Regions from separate parts of the Homo sapiens genome. Here regions 1, 2, 3, 4 and 5 are each linked to region 6. Evidence: promoter capture Hi-C in 16 types of primary human blood cells and fetal thymus (Javierre and others, 2016). All regions are on one chromosome and are shown on one strand. Each heading gives the region's core, a stretch centred on a gene start or on the middle of the fragment in contact. The rest is flanking DNA. Distances are from core to core; before and after follow the strand shown. Region 1 overlaps KLHL24 (kelch like family member 24). Region 2 overlaps YEATS2 (YEATS domain containing 2). Region 3 overlaps YEATS2 (YEATS domain containing 2). Region 4 overlaps YEATS2 (YEATS domain containing 2). Region 5 overlaps YEATS2 (YEATS domain containing 2). Region 6 holds the start of LAMP3 (lysosomal associated membrane protein 3).

Region 1 (4,223 bases), core at 902-3,401, 520 kb after region 6:
TTAACTTGATAAAGCAGTGGAAACCCATTTTGCAATATTGTTTTGTGAAAAACAGGGACAGACAGCCAGGTACAGAGACTCACACCTGTACTCCCAACTACTCAGCAGGCTGGGGCAGGAGGATTGCTTGAGCCCAGGAGTCTGAGGCTACAGTGAGCTATGAACGCACACGGCACCCTAGCCTGGGCAACAGGTTGCGACACTGTCTCAAGAGAAAAGAAAAAGAAAAATAGGGATAGGTTTTCCTTCCTAGCCCAGTAGAGTTTGACCTCATTAGTATGGTGCTTTGGGTGAGGACCTCTTCCTTGATTATCCCACTTTCTAGTGAACAGCTAAAATTCCTGAGAGTCTCTACTGTTAAGGTACCTTTAATAGGATAAAGCAGGGACCACCTATCTCAGTGGGTCCATTTTTCTTTTAAAATTAGTTATCTGAAAAAACTTAGCAGTAGTTCCCATCTTTAAGGTAAGTCTTTCATTTGGTCCCCATTGTGTAAAATACTAATCAACATTTTCAAGCTTCTGTACAACAGACTGCTTTTGTCTAGATTTCTCAACTCCACTTTATAAAGCTTATCAGTTTTCAGAGAGGAATGTGAATTTTTTTTCTAATGCAAATAAATGGATATGGCAGGAACTACAGCATAAGTGATTATTGTGATTCTGGGTGGACGGATATAATTTACAACATTTAGGGATGTTCTAGGTAGCCTGCTGTAGTTTGACTTCCAGTCACTGTTGTCTTTCACATTATAATTTGTATATTTCTTGTGATAGAAGGGATGATGCAAATATGTAATTAAAGTGTCACCAGATTTCTGTTAAAACCAAGGTTGAAATAAAAAGCCTAACATTGGTAAGCTACATTGTTTTCTCATTTTAGAATGATTCAGAGATTTCAGATAGACATTTTTTAAACTTTAATGCTTAGCTAGAATCTACATTCTGAGGAAAACTCTAAAAAACTTAAAAATTTTTAGGGAATTTTTATTTTTCAAATCATAATTTTAAAATGATAGATACCATTTTGTGATAACAACAATTCAGAAAACAATTTTCTATCCTCTTAGTTGAAAGAATGTAGGTACAGTTTGGATACTTGTACTTTAATTTTAGAGTAAACATCTGCATTATACTCTTATAGATAATAGAATTATTTAGTTAAGAAATTCTTTACAGTAAATGAGATAATGTGTGAAAAAGTATTTTGTAAATGCTGAGGATTCTACAAATGATAGTTGTTATTTTCATGTGTATTTGTAAGATCATGTCCATTTCATGAATATAGGACTTCACATAAAAAAAGACTTTCTCAAGACAACTTTATATTCTAGTATTTTTCTGTTGTAAAAAGTATTAACTATTTACTTTTATTTTGTTATACATTTATTTTAATATCCATGTGTTTATTATAGTAAATTTGAAATGAAATCCTGAAAAACAGAATTTTTTTAAACACAGACCTCACACCAATATTAATTTTTTCTCTACATAATTTAAAACTACATAAATTAAGTACTTAAAATTTATATTGAAGGCCACCAAGAACTTAGGTTGAATCTTAGAAAATTTAAATAACTATTTTTAAAGTTACCCAACTTAATATTTTAATTTTTTAATATTTATCTTCCTTTACTAATTCTTGATAAATAATAGCATTAGACTTGATAAAATAAAAAAGAATTTTAGAGTAGAATTAATATATCAAAAGGGGTATATCAACCAAATTGGTGTCAGATTGTATTCATTCTCTCATCACATAAAGATTTTTCTTTTGATAGGTGATGCTCATATGAACCTTTGGTTTAGAATCTATATATGTACATGTGTATGTATGTAGATAGTATGGTTGTATACACACATATATACCAAACACCATGAATTTTAGCAGTCTGTGATGATCAGCAAAAAAGCACATAAAGTAAAAATTAGTTGACCATGCTAAATTCAATTCTGGAATTTTTTTTTATTTGGGCATTTCTAGAACTTTTTACATTTGAAAGTACATGATGAGTATTAGTAACGATGACTTATGTATAATCAGAATCTTTATGACAATTTAGTTTTACAAGGTCAGAAGAGATGAGTTTGCTAAACCCAGCTGTGATACCTCAGTTGGAAAGGGAATTCAAAGGTATGCTTTGTAGAACAGAAAAGTATAGTTTTTTTTTCATGAACTTTAATCATTTTCTGTTTTTCCTCTATGTGAGTCAGCTACAAAAGTGGTCTAATTTTTACAACAGTAGAACTTCCTCCTTTTCTACTGTAATCTTCCCACTGACTTTACTGCACAGGTATGAAATACTAGTGTATTGGATCTTCAGTAACCTTTTTATTTCCTAGATGATTGAAATATAGGTATTTACTCCATTTAAACCAGGTGATAAGATGATGTAAATACTCAGGGAGGGTATTAACTTGTTACTTTTGCTCGTTTGGGGTGTAAAGTGCCATGACTGAATAATCTTCAATTCATGATTCTAGAGTAAGTTTAATTTGGAAAAAGGGGCTTCACACATGGTGGTGGTTGAACATTGATTCTTTTATACTTAAAAAGATGAAAATGTTTTGTGGACTGATACATTTTATCTTACTGAATATGAATTGTTTATGTATCTCTACTGTCAAATAGCCTTTTTGAAACTCAGGAAAGACAAAGGTTCAATTACACCACTTTTGTCAATAAGCAAACCAGGTATTTTTTTTTTCTCCTGTTGTCTGGATATGGCAATAGATTTTTTAAATTGCTGTGAGAACCCATATATGAAAAGAGAGGAGTTGAATTGTGTGTGCCTTTTATGTCTTGAGATTTATATGTGGAAAAGACGACATCTACTTCAAACTGTATTTTTTTCGTTTTTTTTTTTTTTTGGGGAAGGGGGGAGAACGGGGTCTTGCTCTGTCGCCCAGGCTGGAGTGCAGTGGCGCGATCTCAGCTGACTGCAACCTCCACCTCCCGGGTTCAAGGGATTCTGCCTCAGCCTCCCGAGTAGCTGAGACCACAGGTGCGTGCCACCACACCCGGCTAATTTTTTTGTATTTTTAGTAGAGACGGGGTTTAGTAGAGACGGATCACTCCTGACCACGTGATCCGCCCACCTCGGCCTCCCAAAGTGCTGGGATTACAGGCGTGAGCCACCACCCCCGGCCTGTATTTTCAGAGAGGAGAGCTTGGTGTTTTTGTGGTGCCAAGTGGTAAGATAATGTCTCTTTGAGGCTTCCTATGGACTGCCTTTATTTTAGTAAACTCAAGACACCAGTTAACCTCAACAGAGTTTTGGCCTTATTAGAATTTGTTGTGCATCTTATTGAAAGCCAGGTTTACATCACCTCACCCCATTATTCTTTTTAGTTAAATAAATTTACCATGCCAAGTAACCAGAATGGAGCAAATTGGTTGATCTTTAAGGCAGTAGGTTTGACTAGCTAGCTATCATTATTGTCACATCTAATGCTAGGCACCAGAAACCATTTGAGCCAGGAGTGTGAATGAATAATTCCAGAGACACTTTAGACATTTTTTAATGTTTTATATGAACATTTTACATTTGTGTGATTGCCTTAGATATTAAATTTTCCTAGTGCTGATAAAAACAGCAACATTCATAACTTATTTTATATATTGTTCCAAAGAAAAGAATTTGTTTTAATGGTTTCAAAATAACTGCACCTGAATTTGTTTATGTGCCTTAAGTTCTCTAGTGCTATTTCAACTTTTTTTTCAATCTAAATGAAGCTTACCTTAGATAAGGTTCATATTTGTTTCCTATAGAGTAAATAAACTTCCCCTTCTTAAATTGTGTAATAAGCACCAACGTGTGGTTGCTTGGCAGAATGAGAATGTTAAGGGAGATTGTTGGATGTTTGGAGTTTCATTATATTTTTTGTTTTTATTTTTTGATACCTAGGTGCTTTTTAAAATATTCAGACAAATATCTATCTTACATTGATTAAACCCGTGTAAATTCATTTGCAGTATCTACATCGAATGTCAAAAAAGTATACTTATTTTTGTTCCATACTTATGTACAATTTTTTCCCTCTTCAGGCTTTTTCATTTACCTTTTTGAAAAAGCACTTACTCTCCCCTTCCCTATCACCCCTCCCCCAAGGTTTCTTTATTTAAATTTTTATTGAGAGTTGTTGGAGCTCTAAGACAATACAAATTTAGAGTTGAACAAAAGTATAATCTGCTTTACAACTAGTATAGACCTAAGGTCATTT
Region 2 (4,253 bases), core at 715-3,214, 610 kb after region 6:
AATAAGGTGCTGGGAGTGGGAAACACTGCTCCAGTTTGCCATTCATTCAGTGTTTAATTTAACATCCTACTGTTGACTTTGTTTTAAAAACACTCCTGAGTATTTTCTTAAAAGAATTCATTTTACTTTTGGAACTAGATACTTCTAATTTTCATTATTTGGGTACTGGGGTCTTTTTTTTTTTTAATAGTTAAATATTATTCTTGCCTTTTTTTTTTTTTTTTTTTTTTCTTTTCTTAGGGTCTTGCTCTGTCACCCAGGCTGGAGGGCAGTGGTGTGATCACGGCTCAGTGCAGCCTTGAACTCCTAGGCTCAAGGGATCCTCCCCTGCCTCAGCCTCCTGAATAGCTGGGACTACAGATGTGTGCCACTGTACTGGCTAATTTTTTTTTTTTTTTTTTTTTTTTTTTAGACAGAGTCTCACTCTGTCACCCAGGCTGGAGTGCAGTGGCATGATCTTGGCTCACTGCAACCTCCACATCCTAGGTTCAGGGGATTCTCCTACCTCAGCCTCCAGAGTAGCTGGGACTACAGGTGTGTGCCACCATGCCCAGCTAATTTTTGTATTTTTAGTAGAGATTGGATTTCACCATGTTGGCCAGGCTGGTCTCGAACTCCTGACCACAAATGCTCCTCCTGCCTTGGCCTCCCAAAGTGCTGGGATTACAGGCATGAGCCACCACGCCCGGCCAAACTTTTTTCTTTATACTTCTGAATTTCCCAAATTTTCTATTAAAGTAAATTATAAAAAGTAGCTGAGGCAAGACAACAATTGTTAAGCTTCTATTATTGTAATACCCAAGTGTAAGAAATACAGTTGCCGTTCACACCTGTGTAGGTAGCTTTCCTAGATGACTGAATTAGGCTGCATGTATTATGTGCAGGCCTTTGTTTTGCTCTCTGCCAAAACGGTGACTGCTGTTCTAAGAGCTCTCGAAGCACCGTTGGACTCTGCTCTGTTTTGAACAGGTTGTCGGGGTACCAGTTGGGTCTGCTTTACCTTCAACAGTGAAGCAGGCTGTGGCGATCAGTGGTGGCCAGATCCTGGTAGCCAAGGCCAGCTCTTCTGTCTCCAAAGCAGTTGGGCCAAAGCAAGTTGTAACCCAAGGAGTTGCCAAAGCAATTGTGAGTGGAGGTGGAGGAACCATTGTTGCTCAGCCAGTGCAGACCTTAACCAAGGCCCAGGTTACTGCCGCTGGTCCTCAGAAGAGTGGATCCCAGGGTTCAGGTAAAACGGATCATCACTGGGAGCCCTTTCAGCAGAAGCTCTGTCCAAAATTTCCTTTGCTAGTGATTTTATTTGCTATTTGATCTGGTCTAGGAAAGCCTAGTTAGGTTGATGCTGTAAGAAGTGTATTGAAATGTTTGTTCTTTTTTATGGGACATTTTACATAAAGGTCTGTGAGTATTTAGCTTTAAATTTACACACACACACACACACACCCACATACACACACACACACGAACAAATCATTTCTCAGTACTGTGGGGGATTGGTTCCAGGACCCCCTGCTGCAGATAGCAAAATCCACAGATGCTAATCCACAGTCCCCTGTGTAAAATGCTGTACTGTTTACGTATAACCTATGTACATCCTCTGATGTACTTTACTTTATATCATCTCTAGGTTATCTTAATACCTAATAACAATGTAAATAACAATGTAATAACAATGTATATGCTATGTAAATAGTTGTTACACTGTGTTGTTTAAGGAATAATGACAAGAAAAAAGTCTGTACATGTTCAGTACAGATGTACTCATCCTTTTGTCTGCCAAATATATGGATATTTTTTATCTGAGGTAGGTTACATCCATGGATGTGAAATCCACAGATACAGAGGGCCAATGGTACTTGCCAGTTAGGAGCACACATTTGCCCTAACTTTGACTTTAAACAAATGGGGGAAAATATGTAATCCTCCATAGACAGGGTGATTATTTCATTAATCGTCCAAACCACAGTACTTTGGAGAGTAAAAAGAGTCATTATTAATAATTATAGTGGGACAGGTGTAACCTAGAACTGTTCTGGGCAGAACCAGGACGTACGATCATCCTATTATATACAGATATAAAGAGCCTCTGGCAGGCTCTTCTGGTCTATAAATTATTTTTTAATTAGCAAGATATTTAAGAATATCAGTCTTTAAAGCATTGTGCATCTGGGAAACAAACTTTGAATTTATTGCTTGTTAGTGTTCTAAAATAAGAATTTATTGCCTTGTATTTTAATTTTAGAGTGTTGCCCTTAGTTTCAATTTATCTTACAATTTTTTCTCCTTTACCATTTTAGTAATGGCAACGTTGCAGCTACCAGCCACTAATTTGGCCAACTTGGCAAATTTGCCTCCTGGCACTAAACTCTACCTAACTACAAACAGCAAGAACCCTTCAGGAAAAGGAAAACTGCTGCTGATCCCTCAAGGAGCCATCCTGCGAGCTACGAACAATGCTAGTTAGTGAAACCATTGGGTTGAATCATTTGGTTCTTGGTTCTCTATGTGTGTTCATCTTGTCCATCTGAGGGCAGTTCTTACCTGTTTCAGGAAGCATTTCTGTAACTCTGTTGGGTGGTGTAATGGTAGCATTTGCTCAGATGGATTTAACACATACGATAATTTAACTAGAAGTGGGTTTGCTCCTCAGCGTTTGCAATCAGAGATGAATCACTCTGGAGAGAGATGGCTGGTGAGGCTGTTGGGAGAAAGCTGTCTACATGAACCATGAATGAAGTGGTGTCTGAAAATTATCTGGTGATACCTGAGGGAAGATCCATCTACTTATAGAAGCTGGAAGTCTGTTTTTGGGGATAGGTTGGCATAGGATTGGAATCGAGTGTGTCTGTTTGACTTCATTTAGATCAGGGGTCCCCAACCCCTGGGCCGCACAGCAGAAGTTGAGCATGGACGAAGAAGCATTACTGCCTGAGCTCCGCCTCCTGTCAGATCAGCAGTGGCATCAGATTCTCACAGGAGCGCGAACCCTGTTGAGAACTGTGCATGCGAGGGATCTAGGTTGTGTGCTCCTTATGAGAATCTAATGCCTGATGATCTGAGGTGGAACAATTTCTTCCCCAAACCACCCCCCGCCTCCTGTCCCAATTCATGGAAAAGTTGTCTTCCATGAAACTGGTCCCTGGTGCCACAAAGCTTGGGGACAGCTGGTTTGGATGTATTCCTTACTTCTGCTAGGTTTGGAGATGGAAAGAGAAATACAGACTCTACCTAGGTTTGTAAGTCTTAAAGCCCCATGGAAATGAGGCAGTTTATCTGCAGTTAAAGAAACTTTTGCTTTGACATATAGAGAAAAACCGTTTGGGCAGTGTTGAAAAGGATAGGATAAAAGGAAATTATTTCCCTCTGAATCAGAAGTAGAAGGGTACAGCATTCAGGGTCATTGGAAGTTAACCGCCCTTGCCAAAATGCAGTGTGTCAGCTCATCATCCTTGCGTTCATTGACCATGATGTGTCAGTTCCACTCTCACTTGGTGTTTTTTCCTCATACCTAAGCAGTGGTATGTCCAAAAGTTAAATGTGTAAGAAAAGGACAATGTAAATATTTCAGAAGTCATCCAGGGAGCTACTTAGATTCTTGTGATATCCTTGGTGCAAAAATAAACCATTGGGAAGGAAGCTATTCCAATAATCACTGGAATGAAGGTGGAGAAGGAAATTGGAAGTTAGTATTTGTTGAGTGAATATTCATAGTCCAGGTAGTTCAAATGCATTATCTCACCAAAAGAGAAGTAAAAAGACTTCAAGGCTTTGAAGTGGGATTTGAAAGGCAAAGAAGAATGGGGTCCTGGAGTCATTGTAAATGAAGGAAAGTCTTCATTTTTCCTGAGACAGGGAGACAACATCGAGCACTGTAAAGTTACACTAAATTCCAGCAATTCCCTGACATTGAATCAGATGCCCAAAAGTTGGGAAGCACCTAGCTGAGCACATTTAAGTGTTGATTAAAATACTTGGCTAGAGGCTGGGTGCAGTGGCTCACACCTGCAATCCCAGCACTTTGGAGGGCCAAGGCGGGCGGATCATGAGGTCAGGAGATCGAGACCATCCTGTCCAACATGGTGAAACCCCCTCTCTACTAAAAATACAAAATTAGCTGGGCATGGTGGCACACGCCTGTAGTCCCAGCTCCTTGGGAGGCTGAGGCAGGAGAATCGCTTGAACCCGGGAGGCAGAGGTTGCAGTGAGCCAAGATCTTGCCATTGCACTCCAGCCTGGCGACAGAGTGAGACTCC
Region 3 (4,384 bases), core at 1,331-3,830, 590 kb after region 6:
TTGATGATGGACTCATGAGCCTGATTGTTGCCCAATTGTCTAGGTAGTGGATGTTGAACTCCATCGCCATTCTCTCGGAGAAGACTGTATCTATCCTCAGTCCTCGGAGTCTGACATCTCTGATGCCCCTCCATCTTTGCCTTTGACCATTCCAGCCCCAGTGAAAGCTTCTTCACCAATAAAGCAGTCACATGAGCCAGTACCCGATACCTCTGTGGAGAAAGGTAATACAGCAGTTTTCCTTGCATAGCGTTGTTCTGAGGCATTCCTTTCCCATTTGCTGCTTTCAGAGACCTATAGTATATGGAAAATAACTTTGCTATAAGTGGACATGCTGCCTCTACTACACAGTTCTGTTATGAAAGCCAAATTTCCACTCTTGTCAAAAATATTTTTCCGGCCGGGAGCTGTGGTTCACACCTGTAATCCCAGCACTTTGGGAGGCCAAGGCGGGTGGATCATGAGGTCAGGAGATTAAGACCATCCTGACTAACACGGTGAAACCCCGTCTCTACTAAAAATACAAAAATTTAGCTGGGTGTGATGGTGGGTGCCTGTAGTCCCAGCTACTCGGGAGGCTGAGGCAGGAGAATGGCTCGAACCCGGGAGGTGGAGCTTGCAGTGAGCTGAGATGGTACCACTGCACTCCAGCCTGGACAACAGAGCGAGACTCCATCTCAAAAAAAAAAAAAAAAATTTCCATGAAGTTTTACTGACATATTATAAAATGTAAAAATAGCTAAAAAACATAAGATTTTTAAATTTATTTTTATTTTATTTTATTTTGAGATGGAGTCTTGCTCTGTTGCCCAGGCTGGAGTGCAGTGGCATGATCTCGCCTCACTGCAACCTCCACCTCCTGGGTTCAAGCAATTCTCCTGCCTCAGCCTCCCTGTTAGCTAGGATTACAGGCGTCCACCACCGCTCTCGGCTAATTTTTGTATTTTTAGTAGAGATGGGTTTTCACCATGTTGGCCAGGCTGGTCTCGAACTCATGACCTCAGGTGATCCACCCACCTTGGCCTCCCAAAGTGCTGGGATTACAGGCATGACCCACCACGCCTGGCCTAAAACAGATTTTTATCACTTGATAATTCCTTATAATGTATTACAGGAAGACTTTATGGTTCAGCTTCTGATTGTGCGAGCAAGAAACTTGGATATTAAATACCTGGTTTTACTTAAGAAAAGATTCATCACCAACAATGTATTTTGACCATGCCATTTTTAAATTTAACAAATATATGTGTATAAATACATATTTTAATGTTCCCATATATAAGCATAAAAGATATAAAATTGATCTTAAATGTTTTATTTCTAAGCCTATATTTTAATGTGGTTAGTATTATAGTTCTTTTATAAAATCTCAACTTTATTCCTCTTTAGATTTCAATTGCATCTTTTTTATGGGCATTTAATAAGATACAAGAGGGGCCGGGCACGGTGGCTCATGCCTGTAATTCCCAGCCTTTTGGGAGGCTGAAACCATCGGATCACCTGAGGTCAGGAGTTCAAGACCAGCCTGGCCAACATGGCAAAACCCCGTCTCTACTAAAAATACAAAAATTAGCCAGGGATGGTGGTGCATACCTGTAATCCCAGCTATTCCGGAGGCTGAGGCACAAGAATTGCTTGAACCCGGGAGGTGGAGGTAGCAGTGAGCTGAGATCACACCACTGCACTCTAGCCTGGGTGACAAGTGAAATAATGTCTCAAAAATAAGTAAATAAATAAGATAGGAGGATATCATTAGATTTAGTGAATGCTTTCTAAGATTTTTTCTTCTCTAAACAGTTTTTCAGTTTATATATTAAAAAATGGAGGAACATAAGAACTTTTGTTCTTTTTATGTTATACATGGTTTATAGTTAATAATGTTTTCAAGTTTTTTTAAAAAAGCACTTTAAACATTATTCTAAGCATATATATTTTTCACCAAAAATATGAAGGGATGATTGATTGTATTTATTTTGCTACCAGTACATGGTTTAAAATGGTGTTGAAATAATGCATTTTTATTCTTTTTCCACAACGGTAAGGTTTTATTTCAAAGCGATTGATGACTTGCCGTTTGCCTCTTTCATCTCAAGCAGGATTCCCAGCTAGCACTGAAGCTGAACGACACACTCCGTTTTATGCTTTGCCATCTTCATTGGAAAGAACACCCACCAAAATGACTACATCCCAGAAAGTTACCTTTTGTTCCCATGGCAATTCAGCTTTCCAGCCAATAGCATCAAGCTGCAAAATTGTTCCACAAAGTCAGGTTCCTAATCCTGAGTCACCTGGAAAATCCTTCCAGCCCATCACCATGAGCTGCAAGATTGTGTCAGGTATGCAGATGTTTTGAAGACAGTGTATGTGGAGTTGACTGGATGTTAAAATTGTTGGAACAACAAAACAAAATACTTGGCTTTTTTTCTCTTAAGTTCTTCTAAGCAGTGTTATGTTTAACAAAAGGAAGTTTATCACTGTTGATTGGCAAAGCTGTCACAAGGCAAAAACAAAGCTCATTCATACGGAAATGAATGGAGGAGATAAATGAAACTCAAATGGTCAAATTTTTGTCTGCCAGAATCAGCACAGGTAAAATGTTTGCTAGGATATATGGCTGAAACTAAGGTGTAGGAATCGTGTTTGGGGATTATATACATGGAAACCACAGTGACTAGTGATAGAAAAAATTTAGAGGCCTTTGGCATGGAGTTAAATTTTAAGGGTTAGAGTTGGTTGGGAATTGAAATGCTTTATTCTGTCTGTAACCACACTAGAAAATTATTCATTCCTATTGTCAGTAGGTAGTTCTGAGTTGTCTTGTTCACTAAGATTGGATTATCTTTTGCCTTGTGATAGTTTCATTTTATGTTAGGTAAAATTTAGTAGGAATATATGGTTTTGACTGTTCCACCTTAGAACAAAACATGTTTGTTAAAAGGCAATTGGAAATAACCAGGAAGTATGAGGACTTCTGTATAATAGTTAAATGAAGGGGGGAAAAAAAGAATGTTTGGTGTTGTAAGTAGACAGCTAAGTAGAAATAGGATCCAAATCTTTGATGAGAGATAAATAGCTTCTAATTGGTAGGCAATTTTTTTTTTTTGAGATGGAGTTTCACTCTTGTCACCTACGCTGGAGTGCAATGGCGCGATCTCAGCTCACTGCAGCCTCCACCTCTCTCGGGTTCAAGTGATTCTCCTGGCTCAGCCTCCCAAGTAGCTGGGACTGCAGGCACGTGTCACCACTCCCAGCTAATTTTGTATTTTTAGTAGAGACGGAGTTTCACCATATTGGCCAGGCTGGTCTTGAACTCCTGACCTCAGGTGATCCACCTACCTTGGCCTCCCAAAGTGCTCCGGTTACAGGCGTGAGCCACCGTCCCCTGTCATTGGTAGGCAATTTTACCTACCAGGTAGAAAAATTTTGGAACTTGCTACTTCAGAGGTGGAATAGGCTGAACATATAAATTGATTTGAAGTTTAAAGAAATTCATGGATGACGTTTGATCAATAAAAGACAGTAGAGGATGTTTAACTGTCAGTAACTTTTGAGAGTATTTTGCGGGAACACGAATCTTTCTGGGTTACGGCTGTGACATAGTATTGACAGAGACTTTTATTCTGGGTAGGTGAATTTCATATTTTCCTATTCAAAACAAGACACCAGGTTCTTAAATCTAGCTGTTTACTTACTGATTTTCTTCCTTCCTTTCTTTTTTTTTTTTTTTTTTTTTTTTTTTTTGAGACAGAGTTTTGCTCTTGTTGCCCAGGCTGGAGTGCAATGGCACGATCTCGGCTCACTCCGCCACCCGGGTTCAAGCGATTCTCCTGCCTCAGCCTCTCGAGGAGCTGGGATTACAGGCATGCGCCACCACACCCAGCTAATTTTGTATTTTTAGTAGAGACAGGGTTTCTCCATGTTGGTCAGGCTGGTCTCGAACTCACAACCTCAGGTGATCCGCCTGCCTCGGCCTCCCAAAGTGCTGGGATTACAGGCACGAGCCACTGCACCTGGTGTCTCATGCCCGGTCTCTAATTTTAGTGTCTTCGAGTATAACCAGTACTATAAAAGCCTGCCTATGGTGTTAAAAGATTTATCATATCAAGATTCAGCAGTTACAAAAAAAGGTTCAGCAGTTTTGCACTGCTGTGTAAAGCACTGCTTTCTGAACTATAAGGTGCATACCAGGAGATCTTGTTGAAGTGAGATTTATGTTTAGTAGGTCAAGGATGGGACCATAAAATCTGTTTCTTACAATTTCCTCGATGATACTGATGCTGTTGATCCATGGATAAGGATGCAGAGCATGAAACATACATCCTCTGCCTCCTTTGTACCTCTGTTGCTGCTCAGTACCGGGAGCACGCAGTATCCATTTTATTTT
Region 4 (4,668 bases), core at 47-2,546, 630 kb after region 6:
CAGCCTTTTGGATGAGAGTCATTTTAACTGGGTGGGATGCTTTCTCATTGTAGTTTTGATTTGTGTTTCTCTCACAATTAATGATGTTGAGCATTTTTTTATATGCCCCTTGGGCCATTTATGTGTCTTCTTTTGAGAAATGTGTGTTGAGATCTTTTGCCCATTTTCAAATGAGATTGTTTGGCTTTTTTCTATAGAGTTGTTTGAGCTTCTATATTCTGATTATTAATCCCTTGTCAGATGTATATGTAGTTTGCCAGTATTTCCTCCCATTCTGTGGGCTGTCTCTTTGTTGATTGTTTTCTTTGCTGTGCAGAAGCTTTTTAACTTGATGTGATCCCATTTATACATTTTTGTTTTGGTTGCCTGTGCTTTTGAGGTACTACTCAGGAAATCTTTGCCCAAACCGATGTCCTGGAGAGTTTCCCTAATGTTTTCTTGTAGTAGTTTCGTAGTTTGATGTCTTAGATTTAACTCTTTAATCCATTTTGATTGCATGGTGAGAGCTAGGGGTCTAGTTTCATTCTTCTGCATAAAGATATCCAGTTTTCCCAGCACAAGTCTTTATTAAAGTCCCAACTTACCTATTTTTCTTTCATTGCTTTTTCTTTTGATGTCACATCTGAGAAACCATTGCCTAATCCAAAGCCACAAAATTCAAGCCTTTGTTTTCTTCTAAGTTTTATACATTTAGCTCTTATATTTAGGTTTCAGATTCATTCGAGTTAATTTTTTTTTTTTTTTTTTTTTTTTTTTTGAGACAGAGTCTCGCTCTGTCACCCAAGCTGGAGTGCAGTGGCGCGATCTCGGCTCACTGCAACCTCCACCTCCTGGATTCAAGTGATTCTCCTGCCTCAGCCTCCTGAGTAGCTGAGATTACAGGCACCCACCACCACGCCCAGCTAATTTTTTTTTTTTTGTATTAGTAGAGATGGGGTTTCACCATGTTAGCCAGGAGGGTCTTGCTCTCCTGACCTCGTGATCCACCCGCTTTGGCCTCCCAAAGTGCTGGGATTATAGGCATGAGCCACTGCACCTGGCCGCTCTAGTTAATTTTTGTACGTGGTGTGAGGTAGACACCAAACTTTATTCTTTTTTATGTAAATATCCAGTTGGCCTAGAAACATTTGTTGAAAAACCATCTCTCAATCGTCTTGGAAGCCCACAGACTTGAATGATGTGGCTTGACTTCTCAAGCTTCATCTCCTGCAGCTGCTGCTTCCCCGTGCCTCTTCACAGGTGACACCACTCTGCTTTGCAGCTTCTTGAACATACAATGTTCTTTCATGCCTCACCAACTTTCTACATACTCTCCTCTGCCAGGAAACACTGTCATCTCTCCCTTTCTCTGTCTTAAATCTGGAAGATTCCTCTAAAGTGCCTAATGTTTTACCTGAAGCTTTTTCCTGTACCCTCCTGTTTCTATTCCTAGGCAGAAGCAGTGCCTTTCTTCTTGGTTGTGTTGGTGACATTTGCCTGTGCTTGCCGTAGCATCATTATACTTAGGTGACTGTTTCCTTGGTCGCTTTTCTCTCAGAGCCTTAGCACTTAACCATTATGCCGGCCATGTAGTAGATGTTTGTTCAATGAAGTGACAGACTGTAGATGTTTGTTCAATGAAGTGAATCATTGTCATGTGTTCTTAATAAAGCTCATTTTTAGTCCATGTGTATATTCTGAGAATATGTCCTCCTAGTTTTTTGGTGATGAAGTTGCCTTTTATAAAGGGATATAATAGGTGGTGAATTTTAAAAATATGATGACCCCCATGATACTTCCTTGTTTTAAATTTTTTAAATTTTCTTGGTCCATGAAATGTAAAGGTATAGTAACCACTGAACTAGAGAAGTAATCTTTTTTAAATGGTATGGCATTTACTAAGTAGTCATTAACACCTAATAGATGATATTTAGTGTGTGTGCTGTGTGGCCGTCACCGCCGTCAGTCATCACTCTGCTTTCTTCCTGAACTGTGTTGTTTCGGACCCCATGGGTGAGCAGTCTGAAGGAATGGCTCCCGTGTCTTCATCTACGGTCAGTTCTGTAACGAAAACTTCTGGGCAGCAGCAAGTGTGTGTGAGCCAGGCCACCGTGGGAACCTGCAAGGCTGCCACCCCCACCGTCGTCAGCGCCACGTCCCTCGTGCCTACACCAAACCCCATCTCTGGGAAAGCCACAGTATCCGGTGAGTTGCATTGTGATATTATTTCTCTCTCTTTTCTCTCATTGGGCTGGAATATTTTTGTTTGTTTGTTTGAGATAGCGTCTCACTCTGTCGCCCAAGCTAGAGTGCAATATCACAATCTCGACTCACTGCAACCTCTGCCTTCCAGGCTCAAGCCATCCTCCCACCTCAGCCTCTTGATTATCAGGGACCACAGGCACATGTCACCACACCCAGCTAATTTTTTGTGTTTTTGGTAGAGATGGGGTTTCACCACGTTGCCCAGGCTGGTGTTGAACTCCTCAGGTCAAGCAGTCCACCCACCTCAGCCTCCCAAAGTGCTGGGATTACAGGCGTGAGCCACTGTGCCCAGCTATTTTTTTGGAGGGTCTTAAGCAATATTTTGTATGGTAAATTGTTAAAAGTAATTAACCCAGCAGCATTTTCTGAACAGTTGCTTTTTAGATGAATTATTTTTGTTTAAAATCTACGTATCAGATTTTGTCTGAGACTTTAAATTATCATTTGAAAGTTACTATTTGAATTTTTGAATGATATAATAAACCCTTAGCCACGCAGAACCCTACTGGGTATTTTAGCTTTTTTTATAACGTAATTTTGGGGAGAGCCAAGAGTTTGCTTTCCTTAAAGTACTAATTTCTTTTTTCCTATAATCAGTGTCGAATAGAATTCACTATAAAATGTATACCTTTCTTTGCTTTTATAAAGTATATAAAATATATCTTAGCCTTGTTGACTCCAAGTCATAATTTTTAACATTAGTTATTATCTTGGCTAGTGTTAGAGTGATAGGCTGGAGATCCAGTAAGAGCTATGGTGTCTTTGTGCCTGCACTAGAGGGCCTCAGAAAAGTGTACCTTTTGTTTCTGAGTAACAGAGAGCACACATCCTGAGACCACATTGCCTTAGTTGAAGTGATTTGCTTCAGTTTCTCAGCTGTAAATGAGATTGATAATAATACCTACTTCATAAGGTTGAGAGGTTTAAATGAGTTTGTAATATATCAGTGCTTAGAATACTGTCTGGTGTGTAGTGGCCATTATATAAACAATTGCCACTGCCATTATCATGTGTGATCATTTTTGTTGTTAGTCCATAATCCTTTATCTGCAATTCTAAAATCCCAAAAGCTGTGAAAACCGAAGATTTTATTTTTTTAAATTTTACTTTAAGTTCTAGGATACATGTGTAGAACGTCCAGGTTCGTTACCTAAGTATACATGTGCCATGGTGGTTTGCTGCACCTGTCAACCCATCATCTAGGTTTTAAGCCCCACATGCATTAGGTATTTGTCCTAATGCTCTCCCTTCCCTTGCCCCGCACCCCCCAACAGGCCACGGTGTGTGATGTTCCCCTCCCTGTGTCGATGTGTTCTCATTGTTCAGTTCCCACTTATGAGTGAGAACATGCGGTGTGTGGTTTTCTGTTCCTGTGTTCGTTTGCTGATGAGAATGATGGCTTCCAGCTTCATCCATGTCCCTGCAAAGGACATGAACTCATTCTTTTTTATGGCTGCAAGATTATATTGTATTGTACTGTATTATTATTATTTTTTTGATGGAGTCTTGCCCTGTCGCCCACGCTGGAGTGCAGTGGCATGATCTCGGCTCACTGCAACCTCTGCTTCCCGGGTTCAAGCGATTCTCCTGCCTCAGCTTCCCGACTAGCTGGGATTACAGGCACCCGCCCTCATGCCTGGCTAATTTTTGTAGAGACAGGTTTTTACCATGTTGGCCAGGCTGGTCTTGAACTCCTGACCTCAGGTGATCCGCCTACCTTGGCCTCCCAAAGTGCTGGGATTACAGGCATGAGCCACCATGCCCAGCCAGAGATTTTATTTTTTATAACTAATTTTAGGGCACAATTTGACCTCCATTGACAGCCTGTTTGTATTACTTAATGTGAATATTTGTGTGTTTTGCCATAGAATATTGATGTATTTGATTACATCATACTGTCTCAGCTGCCAGGAAGCTAATATAATATATGGCTTTGCTTCTCAAACTTGAAAGTTCAGTTTTGTTTTTGTTTTTCTATAATCTGGTATAGACAGATACTTCTGTAAAATATAATAAAAATGTCGCAGCACTATCGAACTGTTAAAGTTTCTAAATACTGTATTATCTTGTTGCAGATTGATACCAGCCAGCATACGGCTGGCACTGGTCTACCGGAAAAACTGAATATCACCGAGATACACACACACACTCACGCATGCAGACAACACCCCTTACTGCCTTTGGATAAGAGGCTGTGGATGTTGTTGTTGTCATTACTATTATTACTTCATTCATATGTAGCTCCACACCAGGCCCCTTGTGTCTTGTTTGGATAGAGAACAAAAAATTAAGGCTGATTATATTTTTCTCTTGATTTCTACCTCCCTGTTAAAATTGACCAACTTCTAGTATAGGGAGTACTTGTTCTCTACTAACTGTTTTATTTGAGGCCCTGTGTTGGATACTGGAGTAGAAATTGTAGAA
Region 5 (4,009 bases), core at 1,218-3,717, 550 kb after region 6:
GGACTTTTGAGACATTTTTGAAATGTCATTGGCTAATGGAAAATGGATTGTAGAGTCTTATTCAGATATTTAATAAAGGAACACTGGTTGTCTTGTTTACAAAAGAGAATGTATTTTCTTTTAAGACTGTAGAAAGGACAGGGCCAGGAACTATGAAATCATTATCAGCATCTTAGGAATGCCTGTCTGTATGGAAGCAGATAGAAAATGATTGTACTACTCCCCTTCCCCACCTATTTTTTTTTTTTTTTTTTTTTTTGAGACGAAGTCTCACTCTGTCACCCAGGCTGGAGTGCAGTGGCGCAATCTCGGATCACTGCAACCTCTGCCTCCCGGGTTCAAGCAATTCTCCTGCCCTGAGTAGCTGGGATAACAGTGCATGCCACCATGCCCAGCTAATTTTTTGTATTTTTGGTAGAGACGGGGTTTCACCGTGTTGATGAGGCCGGTCTCGAACTCCTGACCTCGTGATCCACCCGCCTTGGCCTCCCAAAGTGCTGAGATTATAGGCGTGAGCAGCCAGCATGCCCGGCGTCCCCCTCCCCAACTTTAAACCAGATGGGAAGTCTTGAGTGAGAGCCCCAAGTTCAGTGGTTCTGATATTCAAATGATGTGAGGCACATAGAATTATTGAGATGATACCTCATATGATATATGGCAAATCTTTCAAGTGTCTAATTTATCAGATTTTACTCCTTTCTCCTCAAGAATTGGCCACTTTTTTTTTTTTTTTTTTTTGATACGGAGTCTTGCTCTGTCACCAGGCTGGAGTGCAGTGGCACGATCTCGGCTCACTGCAACCTCTGCCTCCTGGGTTCAAGCAGTTCTCCTGACTCAGCCTCCCGAGTAGCTGGGACTACAGGCACTCGCCACCACATCCAGCTAATTTTTGTATTTTTAGTAGAGATGGGGTTTCACCATGTTGTTGGCCACATCTTATATGATGTGTTTGCAAAACACAATGGTAGAGTTCTAGGACTGGCTTCTGGGGTTCTCCATCTTCCCTGACTCGAGAGCTAAGACCTCGAATTTCCAGTGACTGTACATTACATCATCTTTATGGTTTTTATTATACAATTTTCTTTTCAAAATTATTTTTCTCTTGGGTTTTATTTTAAAGTATAAAACATTAAATGTTTTGTTTGGGGCCAGGGGTGGTGGCTTACAAATCTCAGCACTTTGGAAGGCCAAGGCCAGAGGATCTCTTGAGGCCAGGAGTTCAAGACCACTCTGGGCAACATAGTGAGACCCCCGTCTCTTTAAAAAATAAAAAGATTAGCAGGTATGGGCACACACCTGTAGTCCCATCTACTCGGAAGGCTGAGGCAGGAGGATCACTTGAGCCCAGGATTCCAAGGTTGCAGTGAGCTATGCTTGTGCCACTGTACTCCAGTCTGGATGGCAGAGTAAGACTCTGTCTCTAAAAAAATTTTTTTTGGCCAGGCGCGGTGGCTCACACTTGTAATCCCAGCATTTTGGGAGGCCGAGGTGGGCGGATCACAAGGTCAGAGATTCGAGACCAGCCTGGCCAACATAGTGAAATCCCGTCTCTTCTAAAAATAAAAAAATGAGCTGAGAGTGGTGGCACACACCAGTAATCCCAGCTACTCAGACAGTTGAGGCAGGAGAATAGCTTGAACCCAGGAGGCAGAGGTTGCAGTGAGCCAAGATCATGCCATTGCAGTCCAGCCTGGGCGACAAAAGTGAGACTCTGTCTCAAAAAAAAAAAGTTTGGTTTTCTTTTTGGTTTCTAACCTTTGTCAAAAACTCAGACTTGGTTATGTTATTTGAATGGATATGGTATGTTTTAATTGATGGCATTTACTTCTATAAAGCTTTGTTTTCTTGTGTTACTTATGGAAAAAATCATTTATTTTCTATATTTAAATTGAAAGCATTTACTCTTTTTTTGAGATAAAGTTTCTGTCACCCAGGCTGGTGTGCAGTGGCATGATCTCGGCTCACTGCAACCTCTGCCTCCTCACAGGTTCAGGAGATTCTCGTGCCTCAGCCTCCCGAGTAGCTGGGACTATAGGCATGCACTACCATGGCCGGCTAATTTTTGTGTTTTTAGTAGAGATGGGGTTTCACCATGTTGGCCAGGTGGGTTTCAAGCTCCTAACCTCAAGTGATCCACCTGCCTTGGCCTCCCAAAGTGCTGAGATTACAGGCCTGAGCCTCTGCATCTTGCCCACATTTACTTTTTATAATGAGGCTGTTTTAATGAGATAAATTTTTTTTTTTTTTTTTTTTGAGACAGAGTCTTGCTCTGTCACCCAGGCTGGAGTGCAGTGGCGTGATCTCGGCTCACTGCAAGCTCCACCTTCCGGGTTCACGCCATTCTCCTGCCTTAGCCTCCGGAGTAGCTAGGACTACAGGTGCCCGCCACCACGCCCGGCTAATTTTTTGTATTTTTTTTAGTAGAGACGGGGTTTCCCCATGTTAGCCAGGATGGTCTTCATCTCCTGACCTTGTGATCCGCCCACCTCGGCCTCCCAAAGTGCTGGGATTACAGGCGTGAGCCACCATGCCTGACCCGAGATAAAAAGTTTAAATTGGAGAAATGGATGACAGTAGTCTTATTTTAGTCGCAGCGTTACATTTATTTCCGTATTCAGTTTTTGTCTCAGAGTATAGAGAAAATTCTTTCTCACAGTCAAATTGTATATGATAACAGATTTTTTTCCTAGCAGTTCCTAGTACCATCTCAGTATTTTCAATTTCAGCTGATTCAGAAGCTATAGAGGATTAGCTGGACATTTTGTTTCCAAGTTGAATTGACCATATCTAACAACTGCTCATGTTTCCTTTTCATAAAATCTACAAGTCAGACAAGAAGAGTCCAGAAGGTAATGTTATCATTGGTCATTTGTTACACATTCTGTTCACTTATTTATTATATCATCATGAGAGCATGCCTCAGCAGATGTGCCTAGTCTTAGCTAGCTAGCAGTTACTTGCATGTGACATGTGCACATTACACATTATTATTCTTGTGAGACAGAAGCAGACCTGGATTATTTTTAAATGCCCAGTATAGAGCTTAATCCTCTTAAATGTGTTTATAAGAAGCTCAAATATATGCCCACATGCAACAAGAAAAGCTTTATTCTAAAGGCTGCATAAAAAATGAATTATCTTGGCAGCACAAATGAACTCATTGTTGGTTTCTTCCTTTCTGCCCACCCCCTCCCCAAATTCCTCTCTTTTCTCTTCCTAGTCTTCCAGTTTTACACCAAAAGTCAAAGAGAGGGTTTTTTTTTTAAGTCCCTTAAGTGAGGATAAAATAAAAATAACTTTTCTTCAAGGATCCCCAGCCATTTTAGTGGGAGCCACCGTTATTCTTGAGATTACTTGGAAGGTAGGATAAGAATATACAGATTATGAAGTCTGTAGAATGGATAAGTGAGGATGATGCTGGAGGGGGACTCATCTTTGTAGATAATCTCCTATGACTCTTGGCAAACTGTGGAAGACAGGTGCCTGATGAGGAAGTAGTATGGTACAAGGACAAGTTTAGGTATCTGCTGGGCTATATCCACCTCTGATTCTAGGTTCATGTGTAATTAGGTGTTTTTAGATTCCTATCTGCATTAAGGAAGAATAAATTAAGTTTATTTTTTTTTAAAGTTGTCTTTTTTATGTAACAGCCCAAGATTTTCTGAGGCTGTCTAAAATTAATTGCAGACCAAATGGAGAAGGCTGAAGAAACAAGACCTTACTTTTACTTTTTAAAAGCTTTAAACAGCTGGGCGCAGTGGCTCATGCCTGTAATCCCAGCACTTTGGGAGGCCAAGGCGGGCGGATCACGAGGTCAGGAGATTGAGACCATCCTGGCTAACACAGTAAAACCCCGTCTCCACAAAAATACAAAAAAAAAATCAGCCGGGCGTGGTGGAGGGCACCTGTAGTCCCAGCTACTCGGGAGGCTGAGGCAGGAGAATGGCGTGAACCCGGGAGGTGGAGCTTGCAGTGAGCTGAGATCGCGCCACTGCACTCCAGCCTGGGA
Region 6 (4,355 bases), core at 352-2,851:
CCATTTTTCAGTGAGGGAACTGAGCACCCGAAAGGTTGGGTGATGTGAACAAGGCCTCCCTGCTGGGAAGGGTCAGGGCAAGGGTTTGAATCCAGTTCCGTGCCACCCCTCAAAGGCCTCCACCTCTGAGGAAGAAACCTCTGATGCATCCTTCACCTAGCTCACCTCTGAGAATTTGTAGCTCAGAAAGGAACCGGTAATGTGGGCATTTTCTCTCCACTTGCCCTTGCATTTGTCAATACTCACTGTATTTTTATTTTTATTTATTTATTTTTTTTGAGACAGAGTCTCACTGTTACCTAGGTTGGAGTGCAGTGGCATGATCTTGGCTTACTGCAACCTCCGCCTCTTGGGTTCAAGTGATTCTCCTGCCTCAGTCTCCCGAGTACCTGGGATTACAGGCGCCCACAACCATGCCCGGCTAATTTCTGTATTTTTAGTAGAGGCGGGGTTTCACCGGTGGCCAGGCTAGTCTCGAACTCCTGACCTCAAGTGATCCGCCGGCCTCAGCCTCCCAAAGTGCTGGGATTGCAGGTGTGAGCCACCACGCCTGGCCTGTCAATACCATTGTGTTTCTGAGCCTATCCATCCATTCAAGGAGCGCTCACATACAGGTCACTGTGGGTTACCGCTAGGCTGAGATTGTTTTGCTTTTTTAATAGCTTGCCCTGTGGAGCGTGATGATGACTTCCTCTTCTGTCCCCTAAAAGAACCTGAAACTGTAAGTGTGAAAGTGTGGCGCAGGGGAGAACTGCCTAGGCAAGGGCAGCTGGCACGACCCTTCTCACCTCTTCCCTAACATTCCTAGCATTCATGTTACAAGCAAGGGCCACCGCGCCCCCTGCTTGAGCATGTTAGCCGGGCGGTAGGGACGGAGACAGTTCTCTCATGACGTTCGAGTAACCAGGAAACTTCATCACAGGGACAACACCACAGCACCCGAGGACTCAATGTCTAGGGGGAAAAGCTCTGGAGAAAGCGGAGGGTCGGATCATAAAATAATCATAAACTCAGCGTCCCAGACGGCATCTGGGATGGGAAGTACAATGATCATTTAAAAAAAAAAAAGTCTTTGACACTCTTCCTACACCTTTCTGAAATGGCACAATCTGTCAGACCACATCTGATGCAAGGAAAAGCAAGACAGGAGCGCTTTTCCCGGATAACAAAGCCAAGACTCCCATTCCTAAACCCTAGCTCAGGTCTCCATCTCTTAAATCCGAGTGACCTCTACAAACTCTCCCTGAGAAGGTGTCCAGAACCCTTTTGGAAGCGAGGGACAGTGTCACTGTCTTTGGGGTTGACACCTGCTCTGAGTAACTCACGGAAAACAAGTTCCAGCTGGGAAGCCCTTGGACGCGCCACACCTCCCTACCCGCAGCCCGTCCTGTGGCGCCCGGGACTCCAGAGTGCGTTTAGATGAAAGGGGACCGACACGTCAGGGCCACCGCGGGAAGCGCTGAGGGCCACTCACCGGCCAGGGACGCGAAGAGCGCGGCCGCCGCGCTGAGCTGCCGGGGCATGGTGGGCGCTGGGCGAGGTTCTGCAGCGTGCGGCGAAGTCCGGGCAGGCCCCGAATCGGTGCCAGAGAAACCTACCTGTGCCGGAGAAACGAAACCACCTGCTTATGAGAAGCAGCCGAAAAGCCCGCCCAGGGCCGCTGGGCGGGGAGGGAAACTCCGCCGGCCCCCTCCTACCCCTACGGAGCAGGGAGGGGCGGGGACTCGGCGCAGCCGCCGGGGCCCGGGCCTCTGGGACCGTTTACCGCACGCGCGTGGTCCCGGCAGCGCCGGCCTCCTCCGCTCATACCCTGGGTCTCCTCCTTTCTTTTTCTTTTCTTTTTGAGACGAAGTCTCGCTCTGTCGCCCAGGGTGGAGTGCAGTGGCGCGATCTCGGCTCACTACAACCTCTGCCTCCCGGGTTCAAGCGATTCTTCTGCCTCAGCCTCCCGAGTAGCTGGGATTACAGGCATGCACCACCACACCCGGCTAATTTTTGTATTTTTAGTAGAGACGGGGTGTCACCATATTGGCCAGGCTGGTCTCGAGCTCCTGACCTCGTGATTCGCCCGCCTCGACCTCCCAAAGTGCTGGGATTATAGACGTGAGCCACCGAGCCCGGCCAGGGTCTCCTCTTTTATTTCTTTTCTTTTTATTTCTTTTGTTTTGTTTTGTTTTGTTTTGTTTTTTGAGACAAAGTCTCGCTCTGTCGCCAGGCTGGAGTGCAGTGGCGGGATCTCGGCTCACTGCCCTGGTTCAAGCGATTCTCCTGCCGCAGCCTCCCGAGTAGCTGGGGTTACAGGCGCCCGCCACCACGCCCAGCTAATTTTTGTATTTTAGTAGAGACGGGGTTTCACCCTGTTGGCCAGGCTGGTCTCGATCTCCTGACCTTGTGATCCGCCCGCCTCGGCCTCCCAAAGTGTTGGGATTACAGGCGTGAGCCACTGCGCCCGGCCCAGGGTCTCCTCTTTTCTAACAGCTCGGGTACCTTTCTGGGAACCCAGAGACGCTTCTCAGCCGGGAGAAAGCCAGCCACTAGGCGAGCAGGAGCCTAAAAACCCCTAAGCACCCTGACTCCATGTCTTCCCAGGGAGTCTGCGGCAGCCGCGCTCCACGCCCAGGCCTCGCCAGGACCGCGGTTTGCGGGAAGCAACAGGAGCACAGCCCAGAGGCGCTAGGTCTGGCTGGGAGCTCGCGCTGCCGACTCCCCGGCGTGCGGCGTCGGGGAACCTCTAGGAGCCTTGGATTCTTCAGCTGTAAAACGGACATAATAATGCCCACTCCCAGTGTGTTTTTTTATTTTCTTTTTTCTTTTTCTTTCTTTGTTTTTGTTTGTTTGTTTTTGTTTTTGTTTTTGAGACAGGGTCTCACTCTGTCGCCCAGGCTGGAGGGCAATGGCGTGATCTCGGCTCACTGCAAACTTGGGTTCAGGCGATTCTCCTGCCTCAGCCTCCACAGTAGCTGGGATTACAGATGTGCGCCACCACGTCCGGCTAATTTTTTGTATTTTTAGTAGAGACCAGGTTTCACCGTGTTGGCCAAGCTGGTCTCAAACTCCTGACCCCAGGTGATCCGCCCGCCTCGGCCTTCCAAAGATCTGGGATTACAAGCGTGAGCCACTGTGCCTGGCCCCAGGTGGTTTTACAGACCAGAAAATCCTGGAACAAAAAACACACAATATCGTTTTTTTTTTTTTTTTGGAGTCAGGGTCTCGCTCTATCACCCAGGCTGGAGTGCAGTGGCGTGATCTCGGCTCACTGCAACTTCGACCTCCTGGCCTCAAGTGAGTCTCCCACCTTAGCCTCCTGAGTAGCTGGGACCAAAGGCGCGTGCCACCACGCCCAGCTATTTTATTTTATTTTATGTAGAGAGGAGGTCTCGCTGTGTTGCCCAGGCTGGTCTCGAGTTCCTGGCCTCAAATGATCCTCCTGCGTTAGCCAACCATTGGGATTACAGGCGTAAGCCACGGCCCACGGCTCAACAACGCTGACAGGCAACCTTTTAATGTCTTATCTCCTTCCTCTATTAATTGGATTGTCTGTCAAAACAACGATGTTTTGACAGGGCTTGAGTCCCAGTGGGGAATACACATTTAAGCAGTATATTAGGAGACCCTCCTTATCACTAGATTGAGGGCTTTCAGCCTAGCCTCAAATTATTTTCTGAAAAATAACTTTGGCTACAACTATTTTGTCTTACTATGTTGCTCCAAACACTAATCAAGTAAACTTAACCAAAGCTTGCAGTGTGTTTCAGAATGGAATTTTTATGGTGAAAAGTGAGGGTTAACTTGTGCCAGTCAACCTAGTTTCAGCAACTACCTGCTTTCTGATCTTTGAGACAGTTTATTCAAAAGACGATAATTAAGTGGGTATAGACTGTGTGCCAGGCACTCTTCTTATTCCATTTAAGCGCCATAGCCACTCTATATGGACACTGTTGTTATTATCGCTGCCCCATTTCGCAGATGGAGAAACTAAGCACAAAGAAGGGAGTTGCCCAGAGTCACTTAGATAATAAATACCGAAACCTGACCATAAATCTTGTCTGCCTTGAGAGTCTAGGATTTTAAGCACATAGCCGGGCGCAGTGGCTCACGCCTGTAATCCCAGCACTTTAGGAGGCCGAGGCGGGCGGATCACGAGGTCAGGAGATGGAGACCATCCTGGCTAACACAGTGAAACCCAGTTCTATTAAAAATATAAAAAAATTAGCCAGGCGTGGTGGCAGGTGCATGTAGTCCCAGCTACTCGGGAGGCTGAGGCAGGAGAATGGTGTGAACCCAGGAGGTGGAGCTTGCAGTGAGCGGAGATCGCGCCACTGCACTCCAGCCCGGGCGACAGAAGGAGACTCCGT

What was found. The method cuts DNA at HindIII sites, captures the fragments that hold promoters and counts their contacts. A CHiCAGO score of 5 or more calls a contact.
Region 1: a fragment that was not itself captured here is called in contact with the fragment with the promoter of LAMP3 in region 6 in 1 of 17 cell types (neutrophils); the score reaches 5.4 in neutrophils.
Region 2: a contact is called between a fragment that was not itself captured here and the fragment with the promoter of LAMP3 in region 6, in 2 of 17 cell types (activated CD4 T cells and naive CD4 T cells). The highest score is 5.3, in activated CD4 T cells.
Region 3: a contact is called between a fragment that was not itself captured here and the fragment with the promoter of LAMP3 in region 6, in 3 of 17 cell types (erythroblasts, activated CD4 T cells and M1 macrophages). The highest score is 7.7, in erythroblasts.
Region 4: a contact is called between a fragment that was not itself captured here and the fragment with the promoter of LAMP3 in region 6, in 4 of 17 cell types (activated CD4 T cells, naive CD4 T cells, erythroblasts and 1 more). The highest score is 7.1, in activated CD4 T cells.
Region 5: a fragment that was not itself captured here is called in contact with the fragment with the promoter of LAMP3 in region 6 in 1 of 17 cell types (erythroblasts); the score reaches 5.9 in erythroblasts.

Annotation. Positions count from the first base shown.
Region 1 is chr3:183,680,083-183,684,305 of GRCh38, forward strand. KLHL24 (kelch like family member 24) reads left to right here. Exons shown (of 8, transcript NM_017644.3): 8 at 1-4,223. Among named protein-coding and RNA genes, the nearest start is that of YEATS2, 16 kb to the right of the region's middle. The HindIII fragment of the contact is 3,164 bases long and covers 570-3,733 here.
Region 2 is chr3:183,771,336-183,775,588 of GRCh38, forward strand. YEATS2 (YEATS domain containing 2) reads left to right here. Exons shown (of 31, transcript NM_018023.5): 16 at 970-1,228; 17 at 2,298-2,459. Among named protein-coding and RNA genes, the nearest start is that of YEATS2-AS1, 37 kb to the right of the region's middle. The HindIII fragment of the contact is 2,373 bases long and covers 779-3,151 here.
Region 3 is chr3:183,752,030-183,756,413 of GRCh38, forward strand. It overlaps YEATS2 (YEATS domain containing 2), which reads left to right. Exons shown (of 31, transcript NM_018023.5): 10 at 44-224; 11 at 2,097-2,336. Among named protein-coding and RNA genes, the nearest start is that of YEATS2-AS1, 56 kb to the right of the region's middle. The HindIII fragment of the contact is 4,831 bases long and covers 166-4,384 here.
Region 4 is chr3:183,788,797-183,793,464 of GRCh38, forward strand. It overlaps YEATS2 (YEATS domain containing 2), which reads left to right. Exons shown (of 31, transcript NM_018023.5): 21 at 2,001-2,184. Among named protein-coding and RNA genes, the nearest start is that of YEATS2-AS1, 19 kb to the right of the region's middle. The HindIII fragment of the contact is 202 bases long and covers 1,196-1,397 here.
Region 5 is chr3:183,707,443-183,711,451 of GRCh38, forward strand. All of the region lies in intron 1 of YEATS2 (YEATS domain containing 2), which reads left to right. Among named protein-coding and RNA genes, the nearest start is that of YEATS2, 12 kb to the left of the region's middle. The HindIII fragment of the contact is 1,269 bases long and covers 1,834-3,102 here.
Region 6 is chr3:183,161,133-183,165,487 of GRCh38, forward strand. It overlaps LAMP3 (lysosomal associated membrane protein 3), which reads right to left and starts at 1,602. Exons shown (of 6, transcript NM_014398.4): 1 at 1,475-1,602. The coding sequence starts at 1,523. RefSeq lists an enhancer at 781-990 and a silencer at 1,603-1,812. The HindIII fragment of the contact is 7,998 bases long and covers 1-3,736 here.